Linked DNA regions of Homo sapiens: region 1 is linked to region 2. The links are contacts of gene promoters, found by promoter capture Hi-C in blood cells and fetal thymus (Javierre and others, 2016). All regions are on one chromosome and are shown on one strand. The core of a region is centred on a gene start or on the middle of the fragment in contact, and the rest is flanking DNA. Distances in the headings are between cores, read along the strand shown. Region 1 has its middle 10 kb from the start of SCNN1G. Region 2 holds the start of COG7 (component of oligomeric golgi complex 7).

Region 1 (5,668 bases), core at 1,053-3,552, 280 kb after region 2:
CACCACGCCCAGCGTTGGAACGTTTTTGCAATACCTCTGTAGAGTTTCTGGTCCTTAGAGGATCACTGCTGGGGTTCAGGGTCTCAGGAGGCTAGTCACAAGAGATAGCAGGAGATCTCAAAACTTCCATAGAGTCAGAGGAGATATAAAGATATATAAAGTGGCTTAGAAAACTTGGTTAAGCTGCTACTAAGGCTTAGGCATCTGTGGCACAGGGTTGGCTAAATGTGGGATCCAGAGGAGATAAGTAATCTTGCTCCCAAGTTTGACTCTTTCCAGGATTCCTACAAATCTAGAATGATGTCCCTCAGTTCTTGTGGATGTTATCTTGCCCCACCAAGATGGGATTAATGCTCTCTCTTCATGCATTCTTAATGACTTAGTCTTTTGGGGCAACCTACTGTCTTTGACCTTTGGGGAGTAGGAACCAGGGTCCTCAGATTCAGTTGTGTGGATTTCAATTTTTTTGATGCTGCTTCTCTTGAGAGAAGCTGGCTTTAGATATCAGCACTGCGGACAGCAGCCATAGTTTCTCCTTTTATGCAGGAGGTCTCCAGTGGAAGCCTCATCGCCCATGACATGCAATTCACAATTTTGGAATGAATAGATGAAGGAGTGAAAGGGGCATTCTCCAGCCAGTCTATTCAGTCTGTGTGGATGAGAGATATCATGGTCAGATTACCTTTAGAACTGGACATGTACAATCAATTCTTGCTATTTGGGCTAGCTATGTTCTATAAAGCTGCCACAAACACTGAATTAGTGAATACTGAACCATTGCTTCTAGAAGAAATATAGAGTTCGGTTCCCGAGAGCCTCTGGTCACAACGTTGTCATTAACTGATCGATACGTAACTTTGTTTTATGTGTGTTCTTGTTTAAAGTCACCTTGTTTAATATATAGTTGATTCAATAACATTGAAATAATGGCCAACAGCACTATATAACTCATGCCTGAATAAAGCTTACCTAACACATATATTTTTTCAGTAAGGCACATACAGCCTTCCTGTGCTTAGGAATATTAGATAGCACTTCAGCGCTAGGGAGCAAACTCACCAACAAAACAAAAATGTGAAAATTGTGGCAGCCTATATAGGCTGCAAAAAAGGACATGAGTTTACAGTATAAGAGCTGAAACAAGAGGGTAGAGTGTTGCCTTATTTGACCTCAGCTGGGAACAAGCACAGTGGGTGACTAAAATTTTTGCTGCTTGGCACATGTCCCTAAAGGCATTGCAAGTATTGATTTTAGGGTTACAAATAAATTCTAGTGAAATATGAAATCCATGAATAATGAGAATTGACTGGGTTTTTTTTTAGTTTTCTTTAAGCCCGTGGGTTTGTTCTTCATCTTTTGGATTTTTCTCCAAGTCTCAGAACACAAAAGATACTCAGAGGTTATGGAAGATGATGTCCTTACAATGGCCCATAAGGCCCTACATGATTTCATTCACTCTCCCTTTTCTTGAGTCTGAGAGTGTAGAGTTAGGTTATTGATTTGAGATCTTTCTTCTTTTTTAATGTAGGTGTTCACAGCTGTAAATTTCTCCCTAATAACTGCTTAAGCTACATCCTCTAATTTTTATATGTTGTGTCATTTTTACTCACCTCAAAATATTTTCTAATTTCTCTGTTGGTTTATTTTTTAATTTTTTAATTTTTTTTTTTTTGAGACAGAGTCTTGCACTGTCACCCAGGCTGGAGTGCAATGATGCAATCTCTGTTCACTGCAACTTCCATCTCCCAGGTTCAAGCAATTCTACCTCAGCCTCCCAAGTAGCTGGGATTACAGGCTTCTGCCAACACGCTCTACTGATTTTTTGTATTTTTAGTAGAGATGGGATTTCACTATGTTGGCCAGGCTGGTCTTGAACTCCTGACCTCATGATCTGCCCTCCTCAGCCTCCCAAAGTGCTGGGATTACAGGCATGAGCCACCATGCCCAGCCGGTGGTTTCTTTTTTGATCCAATATTTATTTGGGAGTGTCTTAATTGTCACATATTTGTGAATTTCCCAAATTTCTTTCTGTCACTGATTTACAATTCCACTAAATTGTGCTTAGAGTACAACGGCCCCCAAGTGTAGTGCGAAGTGCTATCTAGTATTCCTAAGCACAGCAAGACTGTATGTGCCTTACTGAGAAAGGCATATGTTAGACAGGCTTTATTAAGGCATGAATTATAGTAATGTTGGCCATGATGTCAATGTTATTGCATCAACTACATATTAAATAAGGTGACTTTAAACAGAAACACACATAAAGCAAAGTTACATATTGATCAGTTGATGAAAATGTTGTGACCAGAGGCTCTCGGAAACCTAACTCTGTATTTTGTCTAGAAGCAATGGTTGACCTTCTCCCCATTTTAACCTGAGCTGCCTAATGCACAGTGGGGCTGGGGAGGGGCTGGGGGAAGCAGGGCTGAATCTTGGATCCTGGGGAAAGTTAAAGATGCAGAAGTGATGTCAGCTCTCTGTAGCGCAGTTCCCTTCCTGGTCCTTGCCACACAGCACCTTCTACAGAGACTAGCTCTGTGGGTGGCGGGGGCCCCCACAGGCCCCACTGCTTCCCCTCCCCGCTGCCCGTGCTGCTTCTCTGTGCCTGCTGTTGGAGCTCTGATGAAGGAGTAGCTGGCTGCCTTGTGAGCTGGAGGGGGCTGGGGCATCTGCCTGGGTCTTTGCGGAGAGCTGCTTATGGGTGTGGTCTGTCCAGGCATGTTGTTTCAAAGGCGGTGGACGTGAGCAAAAGCATCCTCACAGTTGATCAATAACTTTTCTTGTTTTTAAACCATCATGTCTTCATTTTACATTGGAATAAAGCGAGTTTTTGAAACCTGCCAAAAAAAAAAAAAAAAAAAAGAAGAAGAAAGAATGGTTCAGTATTCACTAAGTCAGTGTTTGTGGCAACTTTATAGAACATAGCTATCCACAACAGCAAGAATAGGCCAGGCGTGGTGGCTCATGCCAGTAATCCCAGAACTTTGGGAGGCTGAGACAGGCAGATCACCTGAGGTCAGGAGTGCGAGACCAGCTTGACCAATATGGTGAAACCCTACCTCTACTAAAACTACAAAAATTAACCTGGCATGGTGGTGAGTGCCTGTAGTCCCAGCTACTTGGGAGCCTGAGGCAGGAGAATCGCTTGAACCCAGGAGGCAGAGGTTGCTGTGAGCCGAGATGGTGTCACTGCACTCCAGCCTGGGTGACAGAGCTAGACTCTATCTCAAAAAAAAAAAAAAAGAAAAAAATTGTGCATGTCCGGTTCTAAAGGTAATCTGACCATGATATCACTCATCTATACACACTGAATAGGCTGGCTGGACAATGTCCCTTTCACTCCTTCATCCTCCTTACTGTATTCATTTCAACATTGTGAATGGCATTTCATGGGAGATGGGCATCCCATTAGAGACCTCTGGCACTGCATGATTTCAATCTTTTAAATGTACTTGGTTGGGCTTGTTTTGTGGCCTGTCATATGGTCTATCCTGGAGCCTTACATGATTTAGTAATGTTGCCAGAAGGCTCAGGAAGGTCTCCCGATGCCGCTGAGGCCTCAGTCCTAGCCACTGGCCAGATTCTTTACACTGTCGGGAGAAAAAATTCAGGGATGAGTCAGAATGAAGCAAGAAGCTTTTATTGCAAAGTGGGAACACACACTTAAGAGAGAAGGGCGGGCATGCTTGGGAGAACGAATCTCACACGATGGAGTTTGGGTTTCTAATTCTATGGGTGTCTCTTCAATTAGGGGTTGGAATAATCAGTAGGTATTCTGCAAAAGGAGGAAATTTCAGGGACCCCAATTACTGCCTACGTGTTTGCCTGGAAGAGTCATGGACACGTCATCCTGACCAGGGTTTTGGCCATTTTCTCTCCCTTCTTTTGTGTTTTCGGTTATCCTGTGGTTTCTTTGCCTAGTTCTTGTTTGAGCTGTTGTTTGGGCTTTTCCATCCTCCTGTGATCACCCAGTGCTGTTCCTATCTCGGTACCACTCAAACCTCAAATCCTACTATTCACCCTGTGTTTATTTCTCTCTAGCCACTCTGGCCTCCTTGCTGTTTTGCAAACTCATCCAGGCACGTTCCTTTCTGAAAGCCTTTGGAGTTGGCTCTGCTCTGACTGGAATGCTCTCCCTCCTGATTTTTGCCTGGCTCCCTATTTCACCTCCCTCAGATCTTTGCTCAAGAGTCACTCTCCCAGCAAGGGACCATTGCTATTTATTCATAACCACGCTATTTAAAATTTCAACCCCATGTACATTTTCTTTAGTTTCCCTGTCCAGCTTTATTTTCTCCATAGTGCCAATTTTCTGTTTAAATTTTTTTTGCTTTTAAGTATATATATATATTTCTAATAATTTACATCTATGATATAGGTTTCTTTATTTTTATGTAATTTTTAATTTTTGTTGGTACATAGTATGTGCATATATTTATGGGGTACATGAGATGTTTTGATACAGGCATGAAATGTGAGATAAGCACATCATGGATAATGGAATATCCATCCCTTCAAGCATTTATCATTTGAGTTACAAACAATCCAATGACACTCTTTATTTTAAAATGTACAGTTAAATTATTATTGACTTTAGGCCGGGTGCAGTGGCTCATGCCTGTAATCCTAGCACTTTGGGAGGCTGAGGTGGCTGGATTGCTTGAGCTCAGGAGTACAAGACCAGCCTGGGCAACACGGCAAAACCCCATCTCTACTAAAAATACAAAAATTAGCCAGGTGTGGTGACACACACCTGTCGTCCCACCTACTTAGGAGGCTGAGGCAGGAGGATCACTTCAGCCTGAGAGACAGAGGTTGCAGTGAGCCGAGATTGTGCCATTGCACTCCAGCCTGGGCAAGAGTGAGATCCTGTCCCCAAAAAAAGTTATTCTTGACTTTAGCCACCCTGTTGTGCAATCAAATAATAGGTCTTATTCATTCTTTCTATTTTTTTGTACCCATTAACCATCCCACCCCACCACCCTTCCCAGTCTCTGGTAACCATCCTTCTACTCTCTATGTCCATGAGTTCAATTGTTCTAATTTTTAGATTCCACAAATAAGGGAGAACATGTGATGTTTGTCTTTCTGCATAGCATCAATTTCCGTCTGACACAATGTATCTATTACTTGTTAGTTGTCTGTCTTTCTACATTAGAATGCAGGCTTCTCCAGAGCAGGCATTTCTGCCTTTTGTTCACTGCTCTATCCTCAATCTGAAGAACAGTGCCTGGCACACAATGGGAGCTCAACACATATTTTGTGAGTGAACAAGTGAGTAAAATAATAGAACCAGTTCTGATTTGGGTTATGGTCATCTCCTCTGTCTCCAAAAGACTGTGCTTGAGAAAGAGGTTGTCTCAGACAATGGAAATGCAGGCTGGAGGGCTGAATGGACCAGTCAGAGACAGTTATATTACAATTTGTATATTCCATGTGGGCTAGAACTTGGTTATGAATGATAGGCACAGGACCACCTTCATGGGTATGTGACCTGTGTGGTTGTCCAAGGCCCCATGCTTAGAAGGAGCTTGGGCTTGGTTTGATGCTTTACTGTCTTGAAATTTTTAGAAATTTTTGAACAAGGGGCTCTGCTCCTTCATTTTATTTCATTTTTACTGGGTCCTGGATATGCAGATTCCTTGCATTTAAGAACACTGATAGGCTG
Region 2 (5,270 bases), core at 930-3,429:
AGATCTAAATCAGATCTAAATCCCCAGGGGTGATTCCTACTAGGGAACACTTGGCACTGTGTGGACAGATTTTTGGTTGCCACAACTTGGAGAGGATGTTGCTCCTAATGGGTAGCGGCCAGGGATGCTGCGAAATATCTTACAATGCATAGGACAGCCCCCATAACTAAAAATTATCTGGGCTCAGTAGTGCCAAGGCTGAAAAATTCCCATCTAAATAAATGAAGAGGCGTTTCATGCTATGGATTGGAACAGTCAATATTGTCATGATGGCAATTCTCCTAAAATTAATCCAACAATTCAACAGTTCAACATAATCCCTGTCAAAATCCCAGCAGGATTTTTTTTTTTTTTGGGGGGGATGGAGTCTCGGTCTGTTGCCCAGGCTGGAGTGCAGTGGCGGATCTCGGTTCACTGCAACCTCTGCCTCCTAGGTTCAAGCGATTCTCCTGCCTCTGCCTCCTGAGTGGCTGGGATTACAGGCGCGTGCCACCATGCCCAGCTAATTTTTTTATTATTAGTAGAGATGGGGTTTGACCATGTTGGTCAGGCTGGTCTCAAACTCCTGACCTCATCATCTGCCTGCCTCGGCCTCCCAAAGTGCTGGGATTACAGGCGTGAGCCACTGTGTCCTGCCTAAATTTTTAACAAGAGCAAAGTAAGAGGACTTACACTATCAGATTGCTCCCCTCGTCTCCCCTCCCTGCATTGCTCCCCTCCTCTCTCCTTCCCTCCTCTCCCCTCCCCCCAAATAACTGGGACTCCTAGCAGAAGGGTTACCCCAGTTAAAACCTACTCAACCCAGAAGAATGAGACAAACCAAGGGAGATGCCAATGAAAAACGAGTGACTATCAGGCCTGGAGATGGCAGCCAGCCACTCATACCCCAATGGCAGGCCAACCTGGAAAACTGTCCCCTGTAGGGTTTCCAAGGATGACATCTTGTCCTCCCCCTTGGGTTGGTCCCACTCTTGAAACAACATAAAAACTTAGAACCTAAAGAATACCCTCATACCTTCCCCTACCTTTTCTTCTTTTCTTTTCGAGACAGGGTCTCGCTCTGTCACCCAGGCTGGAGTGCAGTGGCGTGATCACAGCTCACTGCAGCCTCGACCTCCTGGGCTCAGGCAATCCTCTCACCCCAGCCTCTCGAGTAGCTGAGACTACAGGTGTGCGCCACCACACTCAGCTAATTTTTAATTTTTTTGCAGAGACGGGGTCTTCCTATGTTGCCCAGGCTGAGAAATTGTTTGTGATTATGGGTTATGCACAGATTTCTCAGCCGCAACACCAAAAGCATGATCCATAAAAAAAGGTGATAAGGAACTTAACAAACTTTAAAAGGTCTGCACCTCAAAACACATCATTAAGAAAATAATTAGTTAGGCCAGGCGCGGTGACTCACGCCTGTGATCCCAACACTTTGGGAGGCCGAGGCAGGCGGATCACCTGAGGTTGGGAGTTTGAGGCCAGCCTGGCCAGCGTGGTGAAACCCCATCTCTACTAATAATACAAAAAGTAGCCGGGCGTGGTGGCACGCGCCTGTAATCCCAGCTACTCGGGAGGCTGAGGCAAGACACTCGCTTGAACCTGGGAGGCGGAGGTTGCAGTGAGCCGAGATCGCGTCACTTCGCTCCAACCTGGGCGACAGAGCAAGACTCCGTCTCAGAAAAAAATAAAGAAAGAAAGAAAAAGAAAGAAATAGCCGGGCGTGTTGTCGCGCGCCTGTAGTCCCAGCTACTCTGGAGGCTGAGGTGGGAGGATCGCTGGAGCCCAGAAATTTGAGGCTGCAGTGAGCTGAGATCGTTCAATTGCCCAGGAATTTGAGGCTGTAGTGAGCAGAGATCGTTCAATTGCACTCCATTGCTGCCCACTGCGCTCCACTGTTGCCCAGGCTGTCCTAGAACTCCTGGCCTCAAGCGATTCTCCCGCGTCAGCTTCCTAAAGAGCTGGGATTACAGGCGCGAGCCACCGCGTAAATGCGCTAATGTATGTCAGGGCTTTATAGTAAGCATATAGTTTAGTCCTCGGCAAATGTTAGCAGACATGGGATATTTGTCGGTGCCGGGAGCTCTCAGTCCGGGGCGTTTTCCCACACCCACCTCTGCTCAGCGCTCCGGACGCCTGCAGTCACTATGGTAACGGCCAACGACTTCCGGAAGAAGAACGGCGGGCGGCGAGGGTCATTCCCAGCCGCAAACTGAGTGCGCTGAGCGGGGAAGCGCAAAGGGGCAAGTTACCCGTCCTGGCGTTTCTGGGGTTCGCCTCGGAGGCTAGCCTCGGTGCTCTCGCAGGCTCGCTCGCTTCTGCATCCCCGTTGCCGCCCGGAGCCAACTCTTAAGTTCTGGACGCCAGGCCTGAGGCAGTTCCGCCATGGACTTCTCCAAGTTCCTGGCAGACGACTTCGACGTGAAGGAGTGGATCAATGCGGCCTTCAGGGCCGGCTCCAAGGAGGCGGCGTCCGGGAAGGCGGATGGCCACGCAGCCACCCTGGTGATGAAGCTGCAGCTGTTCATCCAAGAGGTGAACCACGCCGTGGAGGGTGAGCCGCTCGGGGCCCTGGCCGCGGGACCCTCCCCTGCTCTCGGCTGGGCAGAGGTCACCGAACTTGCGTGAGGCACTCAGGTGGGCGGGGCACGCATGGACAGCAAATACCCTCGGCAAAAGAGCAAGCCCCGAACTCCTGATCACGTCAGCGGGAGTCTCAGCTGGGTGCCGGGCTGTCTTGAACACTTGCTAATTTTGGGTGTTGTTTTTCCTCCTCTGGCTGGGCTATAAGTTTCCTTTTTCTTTTCTTTCTTTCTCTTTGTTTTTTCTTTTGAAACAGGGTCTCTCTACAGTGGCTCGATCATAGCTCACTGCAGCCTCGAACTCCTGCACTCAAGCGATCCTCTCGCCTCTCGAGTCGCTAGGACTACAGGCGCGAGCCACCGCGCCCCACAAATTCTGTTTAAAAAAAAAATTGTAGAGATGGGATCTCACTGTGTTGCCAGGCTGGTCTCAAATTCAAATTCCTGGGCATAATGGGTTTTCCAGTCTTGGCCTCCCAAAGTACTGTGATTATACCTGTGAGCCACCACATCTGGCCTGAAGTTTCCTTTTGGAACTTAAAAGAGTGGATCTTATTGCAGTAGCTCTTCTCTAAATAATTCAATAGCAGATCTCTGGGATTCCCTTTTTATTATTATCCATAGGCACTGGAAGACAAGATGGATCTTTTTAAATGCTAGAAGTTTTAACCAGTTCTTAACATGTCTTTGTTGAGGCACCTTCCAGAATATAAGATAAAACAACTCCAGTTTCTGTTATAGTGACTTGAATCTCAGAGTCAAGAGCCCAGTGTCAAAGAAAATTGGCTTTGACTTTTTGTAATCTAGGAGCACGAGTCTGTGAGGTGTTTATTCAAAGAGTTAAAGAGCCTGTTTTGTACCAAACAATAAACTGTAAAAAGAAAAAAAAAGTGAATTTTGAGAGTATGAAAGAATAGCCAACAGATCCATATATCTGGAAAAAACGTATTATAGTATAGGTATAAGAGAATGACACAGATCTAGAAAACATTGTTTTAGTGGATTTTATTTCAGCTGAGGAAGATAGGCTGGTCTCAGTGGAGACTTAAACCTTTTTTTTTTTTTTTTTTTTGAGACAGGGTCTCATTCCTCATTCTGCTGCCCAAGCTGGAATGCAGTGATACCATCATAGTTCACTGCAGCCTCAAACTCTGGGTTCAAGCAGTCCGCTCGCCTCAGCCTCCCAAGTAACTGGAACTATAGGCATGTGCCACCATGCCTGGCTAATTAAAAAAAAAAATTTTTTTTTAGAGACAAGGTCGCACTATGTTGCCCAGGTTGATCTCAAATTTCTGACCTCAAGTGATCCTCCCATCTTGGCTTCCCAAAGCCCTAGGATTACTGGTGTGAGCCACCACGCCTGGCCTAAACCATTTGTTGAGGATAAGTTAAATTATAAAAAATAACATGCACTGGCAACCATTTCATGTAACTCCTCAACTTGACTTTTATTCACCGTGTGTTGATTCACTGTGTGTTGATTCAGTACGTACTGCACACAAGTCTCTCTCCTAGGCTCAGATGGAAAGACCAAACAGACTGCTTCCACTGGGAGTGGATAGTCCAAGAGATGTTCCCATTTTTGTTTGTTTTTTTGTTTTTTTTGAGACGAAGTCTCGCTCTTTCCCCCTGGCTGGAGTGCAGTGGCGCCATCTCAGCTCACTGCAACCTCCCCCTTCTGAGTTCAAGTTATTCTCCTGCCTCTACCTCCTGAGTAGCTGGGATTACAGGTGCGTGCCCCACCCCTGGCTAATTTTTGTATTTTTAGTAGAGATGGGGTTTCATGATGTTGGCCAGGCTGATCTTGAACTCCTGACCTCAGGTGATCCACCCACCTCGGCCTCCCAAAGTGCTGGGATTACAGGCATGAGCCACTGTGCCCGGCCAGATGTGCCCATTGTTTAAGAAAAGGTAGGGAGGGGGCTCTATTTCACTGCAGATTGTTTTCTTTCTTTCTTTTTTTTTTTGAGACAGGGTCTCACTTTGTCACCCAGGCTACAGTGCAGTGGTGTGGTCAGTGCTCACTGCAGCTTCACCTCTCGGGCTCGAGGAATTCTCCTGCCCCAGCCTCCTGAATAACTGGGACCACAGGCTTGTGCCACCATGCCAGATGGCACAATTTTTTGATTTTTTGTAGAGATGGGGTCTCACTATGTTGTCCAGGCTGGTCTCAAACTCCTGAGCTCAGGCGATCCTCCAGCCTTTGCCTCCTAAAGTGCTGGGATTACAGGCGTGAGCCACCGCGCCCAGCCCTTATTCTTTATTGTACCTTGCATCTTTTACTAATTATTGAGCATCTACTATGCATGTGTCCAGAAATGGGCAGTGGGGAGGAAAAGTTTATCTTGCTCGAGCTTGCTGCCTTTGGGGAAGATAGAAACAGTAAATTACAATGACGGATGGCTTTACTCAGAATAGAATCTGGAGTTGTGAGAACTGTCAGGAGGGTGCAGTTACTTCTTGTTTAGGAGAATCATAAAGCACTTGCCCTGTGTTAGACCTTGAAGGAAAACTTTGTAGGGCAAAGAGGAAAGGACATTAATAATAATATAATAGCAAATTGGCTGGGCGCAGTGGCTCATGCCTGTAATCTCAGCACTTTTGGAAGGCTGAGGCGAGAGAATCACCTGAGGTCAGGAGTTCCAGACCAGCCTGGTCAACATGGTGAAACCCCATCTCTACTAAAAATACAAAATTAGA

What was found. Contacts are between HindIII fragments. The CHiCAGO score rates a contact against its expected background, and 5 or more counts as called.
Region 1: a contact is called between a fragment that was not itself captured here and the fragment with the promoter of COG7 in region 2, in 1 of 17 cell types (endothelial precursors). The highest score is 9.1, in endothelial precursors.

Annotation. Positions count from the first base shown.
Region 1 is chr16:23,169,684-23,175,351 of GRCh38, reverse strand. No RefSeq gene overlaps it. Among named protein-coding and RNA genes, the nearest start is that of SCNN1G, 10 kb to the left of the region's middle. RefSeq lists an enhancer at 2,623-3,124. The HindIII fragment of the contact is 2,672 bases long and covers 967-3,638 here.
Region 2 is chr16:23,450,098-23,455,367 of GRCh38, reverse strand. COG7 (component of oligomeric golgi complex 7) reads left to right here and starts at 2,179. Exons shown (of 17, transcript NM_153603.4): 1 at 2,179-2,542. The coding sequence starts at 2,374. LOC124903667 (a long non-coding RNA gene) reads right to left here and starts at 2,625. Exons shown (of 2, transcript XR_007065030.1): 1 at 2,103-2,625. RefSeq lists enhancers at 1,850-1,899, 2,190-2,519. The HindIII fragment of the contact is 18,303 bases long and covers 1-5,270 here.